2 separate regions of the Homo sapiens genome follow, and region 1 is linked to region 2. Evidence: promoter capture Hi-C in human tissues and cell types (Jung and others, 2019). All regions are on one chromosome and are shown on one strand. Each heading gives the region's core, a stretch centred on a gene start or on the middle of the fragment in contact. The rest is flanking DNA. Distances are from core to core; before and after follow the strand shown.

Region 1 (3,914 bases), core at 20-2,519, 1.0 Mb after region 2:
TTAGTGGAAAACGACGAATGAAAGGTATGTATTCTGAGATCGTTGGTGTTGAAGAATGTCTTTTTATCTACCCTCACACTCAAATGCTATATGGGCTACATAAAACTTCTATATGGGAAATCAATATTTTTTTCCTCTGGAATTCAGAACTCCACTATCTTCTAGTTTCTAGGATTGCTTATTCTTGAGCCTTTATGTGTATATGTGATCTTTAATTTCTCCCCTCTGGAAGCTTTTAGAATCTTCTATTTGTCCTCACAGTTCTGAAAGTTCCTAATAATATAACCTGATATGAGTCTTTTTCATCCATTGTATGAATTTTCAGTAGGCATTTTCATATAGAAGTTCCATCTTCTCCAGTATTGCATATTTTTTTCCAGAATTTTCTGGATTTCTTTCACTTTTCTTCTGCTTATTCTTTCTTTATAGAATTCTTATTACTCTAATGGTAGTCCTCCTGAACAGAAGCTCTACTTTTCTATATTTTTTCTACTATTTTCCATCTCTTAATCTTCATGCTGTTGTCATTTCTGGGAGATTTTCCTCAAATTTATGTTCTAGTCATTATATTGAGTGTTTTATTTTTGCTAGTATATTTTCAATGTCTAAGGTTTTCTTGGTTCTTTTATGATCTCTGTATGTTATCTTCTCTTCTTTTATAGATGCAACGTCTATTTCTATTTCACTGAGGATGTAAATGATATTTTAAGCTTTTTTTCCCTTCTCTTAACTGTCTGTTTCCTCTACGATCCTTCTGTCTGTTTTAGTCAGTGACTTTCATGTTAGAGGCTTCCTTTTCTACTGTCAATTATATCTCACAAGCCTATTTCACTCATTATTAAATATTTCAGCAAATATTTGTTGAGCACCTACTCTGTGCAGTATACTATGGGAGATAAAAAATAGAGAGCCTAATGCCAGTACTAAAGCAGTAGCTGAAGACCCAAGGAAAGATACATGTCAGAAATAAAGCAAGTGGTTTTACAGAAATCCTCAATTGTATCATATATTTGTTTATCAAAGACAAAGAGGAAGGGGGAAAAAAGAGGGAGAAAAAGGAGGAGGAGGAAGAACTTTATGAAAAGAAGGGGAAGGCAATGGGAAGATGTACAATACATTGAAGGGTACAAAGTTGCAGATAAGTAGGATGAATAAGAGTAGTAATCTAAGATACAGCATCAGGACTGTAGTTATAGAATTGTATATTGAAAAGTTGCTGAAAATAGATTTCAGGTGCTCCTACCACAAAAAAGGGAGGGGGTAACTGTGCAAAATGATAGATATGTTAATTCGCTTGACTGTAGTAACCATTTCGCTGTGCGTAAGCACAGATGCTCCTCACCTTAGAATGGGGGCTATGCCCAGACAAACTCATCATACATTGAAAATATTATAAGTCAAAAGTGCATTTTCTACTTATGACATTTTCAATGTATGATGAGTTTATCCAGACCTAGCCCAATTATAAATCAAGGGACATGCTATGTATTGCTTTCAGATCATCCTAAGTCAAAAAATCATAAGCTGAATCATCGTAAGTCAGGGATGCTGCATATATCAAAACATCATGTTGTACACCTTAAATATATACCACAAGTTTTAAAGTTAAACAATAATAAAAAACATTTTTTTAAAGAAGGAAAAGAAAATTTAGTATGGTGATGTATGAAAGTGCCAAATGAGTGATCAAATACATACTACAGTAGTTGAAAGTCATGAGAAATTTGTAGATGACTAGATGATTAGGGCAAGATTAGGGAACAAGCAATGCTTAATGGAGTCTTTGAAGGACAGACAGAAATTAAAGAGAGAGAACAAAAGGAAGAATATTTCAAAACATGGGAAAATACAAGATTAAATATAGATATGGAATATGCATATTTCAGGGTTGTAGATTCCAAGTTTTGGAATCACCTAGCAAGCTTTTAGGTCTTGGATGAGGCCTGAAAATGTGCATTTTAAAAATATACTTCAGGTGCTTATTAGGGAATAAGCCAAAGATGGATTCTTATAAAAGAATAAAACACAGTTGGCTTGGATAAGTTATCTGGGGCTTCTGGACTAAGGTAATCTTTATGCCACATCCAAAAGAATATTGTTGAGTGTTTTTGTTTTTTGTTTTCTCTTAAGGGTGATGACCTCAGGGACTTGAGTGTGTCACAAGGAATGCAATCAGGCAATTCCATGCCAGAACAGCTACAGGGAGATAGACTCTGGAGCCGAGCATCAGAAGACTCCTTTATTAATTTTGGGACAAGCTATTGGCCTGTCCTGGTGTTGGAGTGACATTGGCTGGAAAGAAGCATATAGAAAAAAGACATTTTAAAAATCAAGATGAATGATGGTAGAGAGGACATTGTCAAAGATGCCAAAATTTTAGACTCATTGGGAGCATGATAGAACTGGTGATGGAAATGGGGAGACAGAGCATTTTTTAGATAAAATGTTAAATCTGGGTTTAGGGTGTTCTGAATTTAGGGTGAATCACCCAAACAGAAAAGTTCATTAGACTTAGAGGAAAGTTTGACTTAAAGGAACTGATTTCAAGAGTTGCTGGTGGAGGAGTCATTGGTGATGCTACAGTTAGTCTAAGACTTTCATCAGAGAATGGGAATAAGAGATAACAGGTGCTTCCCAAAATCTTGATTTAGGAAGAACCCATAGTTAATGAAACAGCAGAAAGTTAAGTACACAGTGAGGGACCAGGAGTCAATGAACTAGGCAAACCAGAGATTTGTAATGTCTTAAATTTCCTTTGCTATCCTGCAGAGTTAATAAGCAAGTACCTGAAGTATATTTTTAATCTGCATATTTTCAGCCCTCACCCAAGACTTAAAATCTTCCTTGGTGATTTCAAAGTTTGGAATCTACTACCCTGAAATACAGATATTCCATATCCATATTTAATCTTGTATTTTCCCATGTTCTGAAATGTCCTTCCTTTTGTTCTCTGTCTTTAATTTCTGTTTGTCCTTCAAAGGCACCATTAAGCCTCACTTGTTCCCTAATCTTGCCCTTATCATCTAAGCATCTACAAATTTCTCTTGGTTTTCAACTCCTATAGTATATATTCAATCACTCATTTGGCATTAACATACAATGCTATACTAAGAATTCTTTTCCTTTTCTAAAAAAATATTTTTATTATTGTTTAATTTTAAAACTTGTGGTATATATTTAAAGTGTACAGCTTGATGTTTTGAAAGGAGTACACAGAAATATGTCTCTGAAAGAGTGTCACTGCCTCGTGTTTGTAATGGTGCTGTATTTTTGTATCTTACTGCCTGAGCCATTTTCATTGTGATGTGATTACATCATTCATTATCCTCTAAGAATTGTCACTAGAGGCCGGGCACAGTGGCTCAAGCCTGTAATCCCAACACTTTGGGAGGCCGAGGCGGGTGGATCACGAGGTCAGGAGATCTAGATCATCCTGGCTAACATGGTGAAACCCCGTCCCTACTAAAACTACAAAAAATTAGCCAGGTGTGGTGGCAAGCGCCTGTAGTCCCAGCTACTTGGAAGACTGAGGCAGGAGAATGGCCTGAACCCAGGAGGCGGAGCTTGCAGTGAGGCGAGATCGCGCCATTGCACTCCGGCCTGGGCGACAGAGTGAGACTCCGTCTCAAAAAAAAAAAAAAAATTGTCACTAGATTCTCTTATTTATTCCTCATCCCTCCAAGACACCCCTCAAAACCTGACAGCTATGCAAAGTTAGGATGTGCCTTGCCACCAGCTGCTGGTGGCACTGCTCAGTGAGGATCAGAGCAGGGCATTACAGAAGGTGTGTGCATTGGCAGGCCAGCCACAGGAATTTCCAGATGTGTTATATTTGCAAGCAGTGTGGCTGAATTTATAAACTTATTGGTACCTAAATGCTGTTTTTAAAATTGTTAGGTGCCAACTTTTTAAAA
Region 2 (4,503 bases), core at 1,117-3,616:
GACCCCGAGCTGCTGGTGTGAGGGACCTGGCGCCCTGCCAGTGGAGCCTGCTCTTCCCTTCCAGAGCTCCTGGGAGGACAATTTGAAAAACACATATGCACATCCCCTTACTAATTTATTCACTCACTCACTCATTCACAAACAATAATATCTCTTGAGCACCTACTGTGTTGCAGGTGGAGCCAGCAGGCAACGGCACAAAGGCAGTCCCGCTTTTGGTGAGCTCACATTGTAGTAGGATGTGGCAAAGCTAAGTTCAGACAGGTCGCAAGTGCTAGGAAGGAACAATGATGTGATCATGGCTGGGAGGTGGCTACTTTAGATGGGGGATCAGGAAAGGCCTCTCTGAGGAAGCAAAACACAGTTGAAAACAGAATGATAATCTGGAAAGATGCCCTGATTTGGACCAAAGAAGAAGCAGACCCAGAGAGGTGATGTGACCTTCCCCAGGCAGGGAGCTGAGCCGGGACCTGACCTGGGTTGCCGGCATCTCCCATCCAAGGATCTTTCCTTTTACAAACACTACTAAACAGCTATCACATACAAAGAAGTCTCAGTGACAGGTGACATCCGAGGGTGGACAAACCACCCAACTACATCCTGGAATTCGGTGCCGTCTGTGCATGACTTTTGATGCCTCCCTCCTTCTTCAGCCCAGTCCAGCGTTGGCCCTGGGTCTGAAGGCACTGTAACCCAAGAGATAGAACTTGGTGGTGGACACCCCAGGCCTGTGACCTTGGCTGGGAAAGCTTCTTCATCTCCTATCTCCCTGGCTACAAACTGTGAAGGGTGCTCCTTACTGCTTCATTTGGCGGCATAAAAAGAAAAGCAAGTTGGTGGTTATAAATGTCCTGGGCTCATCTGAAGAAAGGCTCTCTGGAAAGTCAAGGTGCTCTAGGCAGACTTAAAGACATCAACGCCAGTTTTCCTCTTGTTCTGCAGCACTCACACAAGAACTATGGGGAATCACACAGGCCTGTACATATTTTACACACGAGTCCAAAGGTGGGTATAAAATTCCTGCTATGCTGAATATAGTGGGAAACAGCACACAAATGCCTCCCTCTGCTACCCACAAACCAAACAGCTCTGGGCCACCTAAGCCCTCGCCAGACCACCAACTTGGCCCCTGTAGGCCAGTAGTGCCCCTTACCCTAGGAGTCTTAACTATCATCAAAGCATTTCCAGGCATTAATTGGAGCCTCCAGTCCCTTGGGAGACAGATGGGGCCAGTGGTTATTAGTCCCATTTTGCACAAAAAGCAACTGAGCCCCAGATGACCTATCTGTCCAGGGAACAATGCTACTGACACAGTGACAACCATTAAGTTCTGATTCAAACCTGTCTCCAGCCTCTAACTGCTGCTTTCCACTGCAATCCAGCTGCCCACAAATTGAACACAGACTATCCACTTTGGCCTAATACCACCCTCATTCTCTTCTTCACGCTCCCCCACACACACCCTATGCCCCAGAGTGCACTTATGAGTTTTTCCAGAAGCTGCCTCTTCTCCTCACCCCCCACCCCCACGCTCACCTCACAATACTTGCCACGAACTGGAGACCTCTGGAACACTTATTCCTCCTGCACACAGCAGCTTAGACTCAAGTTAAGATGCTGTCCCGCCAAGCCCAACTGGGCTGCCTCCCTTTCATACTTTCCACCAATTCACACATGTGCACACTGCACATATGGCTGGTGAAAAGGATACACCCCAGAACCTTCCATGCCTTCTTTCCACACGGAGCCGGCCAACTGCACATGCAGGGATGGGCACGAAAACACAGGTGACAGGGCCTACACAGCCATGTTGTCACAAATACACAGACGTGCCCAGAACATGAGGACATCCCTGCACAGGCAGACAGGCCCTCTGAAAGCAATGTGCACCAGATACAGCATTTTGGTGTAGCCATGAGAGGCAGCTACTCGAATTCAGGGTGGACAAAGAATGACATTTTCAAGAGGAACAGACATGCCCCGGGCACGCTGGACGGCACGAGGCCCTCAGAGGCCCAGAGCTCTCTCCCAAGGCACAAGTGCAGAAAGGCAGACTCATGCGCATAGTTATGGACACCGTGTTGCGTGTCCCATGCAGACACCAATACCTGCTCACATGCCCCGCGAGTGTCCCAGGCATTCCTGCCTCCTCCACTCCTCATCCCCAGCCGGCTTCCCTCTGCCCGCCCGGGGGAAGCTCGGGACAGTCTAGCTCGGGACTGCCGGCGGGGCGGGCAGCGGAGGTGGAGGCGCCTCTCCTGGACCCCCAGCCCCCTCCCGCGGCGCCCCCACTCCTCGGGCGCGCTTCTGCACTTACCCTGCCAGGGGCTCCGGAAGCGGCGAAGGGAGCTGCGCCTAGAGAGACTGAGAGCGGCGGCTCCCGGGGCCGCCCAGCCGCCCACCGCCCGCAGCCAGCGCTCCTCCCTCCCAGCCCGGGAAGGTCAGCGTGTGGGCAGCCCGGCCCGCGCCCCTGCGCCCACTGAGGCTTCCTGCCGGCCCTCTAGTCCCCGCCTGCCCAGCGCTCGGCCGCGACGCCCCGGCGCCGGCTCTCCCAGCCCAGCCGGCAGGACGCGCCCGGGAGCCCCGCACGCGAGCTGCCGGCTCTTTGTTTGGGGGTTTGCCTCTCTGCGATTCAGAGCACGCGGAGGGAATTAAGTCAGAGTCCGAGGCAGCTGTGCGGTTGCCGGGGGGATCCCTAAGGGGGGCGGGGCAAAAGGACGGACTAGTAGGGCGGTGGAGCGGCTTTCAAACTCCCCGCGCTCCGCAGCTCCCCGCTTAGGTCTCCCTGCCCTTTACGTTTGTCGGCCCCTGGGAGAGGTTGGCCTTTGGGGGTTTCCAGGGACCCTAGGGACAAGCCTGTCTGATAAGAGAGAGGTTCTCCATCCCCCTTCCTCACCAGCCCCCATCACTGCCGTGTCCCTCTTAGAGTCCTGTGGAGCATCAGCTTTACATTTCCTGGGCCCCGGGGAGAATCAAGGTCTCTCTAATCTGAAGCAAAAAGGAATAACAGAGAGTAGAGCCCATCTGTTCCTGCTGAGTCCCTGTGAAGGTGCAAAGCTGGCCCTAACGGGACTGGCCCTAACAGTGGGGCATGGATTATCTATTTCCCAAAGTAACAAGGGCCTTGTGCTTATCCAACCGTGTTCTTTTGAAACTTAGCTGCAGTGAGGAAGATTACCCATTTACCAGGTTGCTAGATCAGGGAAGCCACTGGAGGCAGGGGACGCTGACAAAGCCACTGTACCGGGAGCACCAACGTTCTAAATACCCCAGCTGGCTGCTGAGAAGGGCTTCGCGGGGGGCCACACAGGAAGGAGATGATTCCAATAGTCCCGTGAGATGAGGACCTTAACTGGGGGATGAATGCGGAAGCTGCAGCAAAGGAGAGTCTACAGACTGTGTGGTGTAGGAGGAGCACACTGGGGCTGTAACATTGTGGAAGTCTGGAGGAGAACCTGGAGTGATGTGACTGAGTTTAGTGTGGAGCAAGTTGGATTGGAGAAGCAGGCCACCTTCTTCCAGGGGCAGATATCCAGCAAATGCAATTGGAAGGGTGATTCTGGAGTTCATAGGAGAGACTGAGGCAAGGGATGTCAATTTTGGAATCATCTGGAAAGAAGTTGGGCCGACACAAGAGGTGGAGGGAGAGGGTAGAAAAGGTACAGAGAACAGGGCTGAAGACAGAATCTAGGTCTACCGAGAAGGAGCCCATGAAAGGAACGGAAACTATCAGGAGAAACCATAAGGGAAGGTCAGGACTGTGCGGGGTGTCAGGACTCAGGAGAAGAGGGAGGTTCAATGGGGGCCGGGGCCCGGGCTGCAGGGACACCACGGAGGAGGGCGCCCAAGAAAATAGGTTTAGATTTAGAAAGAAGGAGATCTCTGGGCTAGTTCAAGATAACTATTTGAGTGGTGGCTTATATAAACCAGGTTGCCACTCCTTGGGGCGGGGCATCTGTATCTCGGATCCAATTGGTTGATGGGGAGATACAAAGGTTCACCTCTTTGCTTCCATTACGGAGGGCCCTGAAGGGCCACCCCAGCTCCATAGCTTCCCAAGGGATCCGCCGAGGCCTCTGTGGAAAGCAGCACAGTTAAAGTTCATTCTCTGCCGAATCCTGTTTCCCTCACTCTCTCAAGGTGTTGTTCCCAAGAGCACGTCCCAGGAGACCTCCCACATACCATCTCCATCTCTGTGCAGAGTCTGTTTCCTAGAAATCCAACCGGAGGTACAGGGACACTGAGAAAGGGCGCAGGAAACAAAACTTGGCCTCTAACGGAGCAGTTTAAACAGACAGGGATGGTTAGAAAGACTCAGAGAAGGTGGTGTGAAGGAAAGAGCCTGGGGAATGGGGAGCGAAGAGGAAGCTTATTCGTAGTAGAAGATGGATTTTCAAAAGCCGGATGGAAGAGAGAAGAGTGGAGTAGGCCCGAGGAGGGGAGAATGCTGGAAGAGGGTAAGGGTGAGGGGAGGTCAGTATTCACCAAAGTTAATAACATTAA

The links. Contacts are between HindIII fragments. The study calls those that stand out against the background at their distance.
Region 1: a contact is called between a fragment that was not itself captured here and the fragment with the promoter of TSPAN11 in region 2, in 1 of the 25 tissues and cell types used here (dorsolateral prefrontal cortex).

Annotation. Positions count from the first base shown.
Region 1 is chr12:29,902,869-29,906,782 of GRCh38, reverse strand. The region is part of intron 4 of LOC105369715 (a long non-coding RNA gene); the gene reads left to right. Among named protein-coding and RNA genes, the nearest start is that of TMTC1, 120 kb to the right of the region's middle. The HindIII fragment of the contact is 4,307 bases long and covers 1-3,422 here.
Region 2 is chr12:30,924,611-30,929,113 of GRCh38, reverse strand. It overlaps TSPAN11 (tetraspanin 11), which reads right to left and starts at 2,366. Exons shown (of 8, transcript NM_001370302.1): 1 at 2,318-2,366. It overlaps LOC124902911 (a long non-coding RNA gene), which reads left to right and starts at 2,425. Exons shown (of 2, transcript XR_007063264.1): 1 at 2,425-4,503. The HindIII fragment of the contact is 5,500 bases long and covers 1-4,503 here.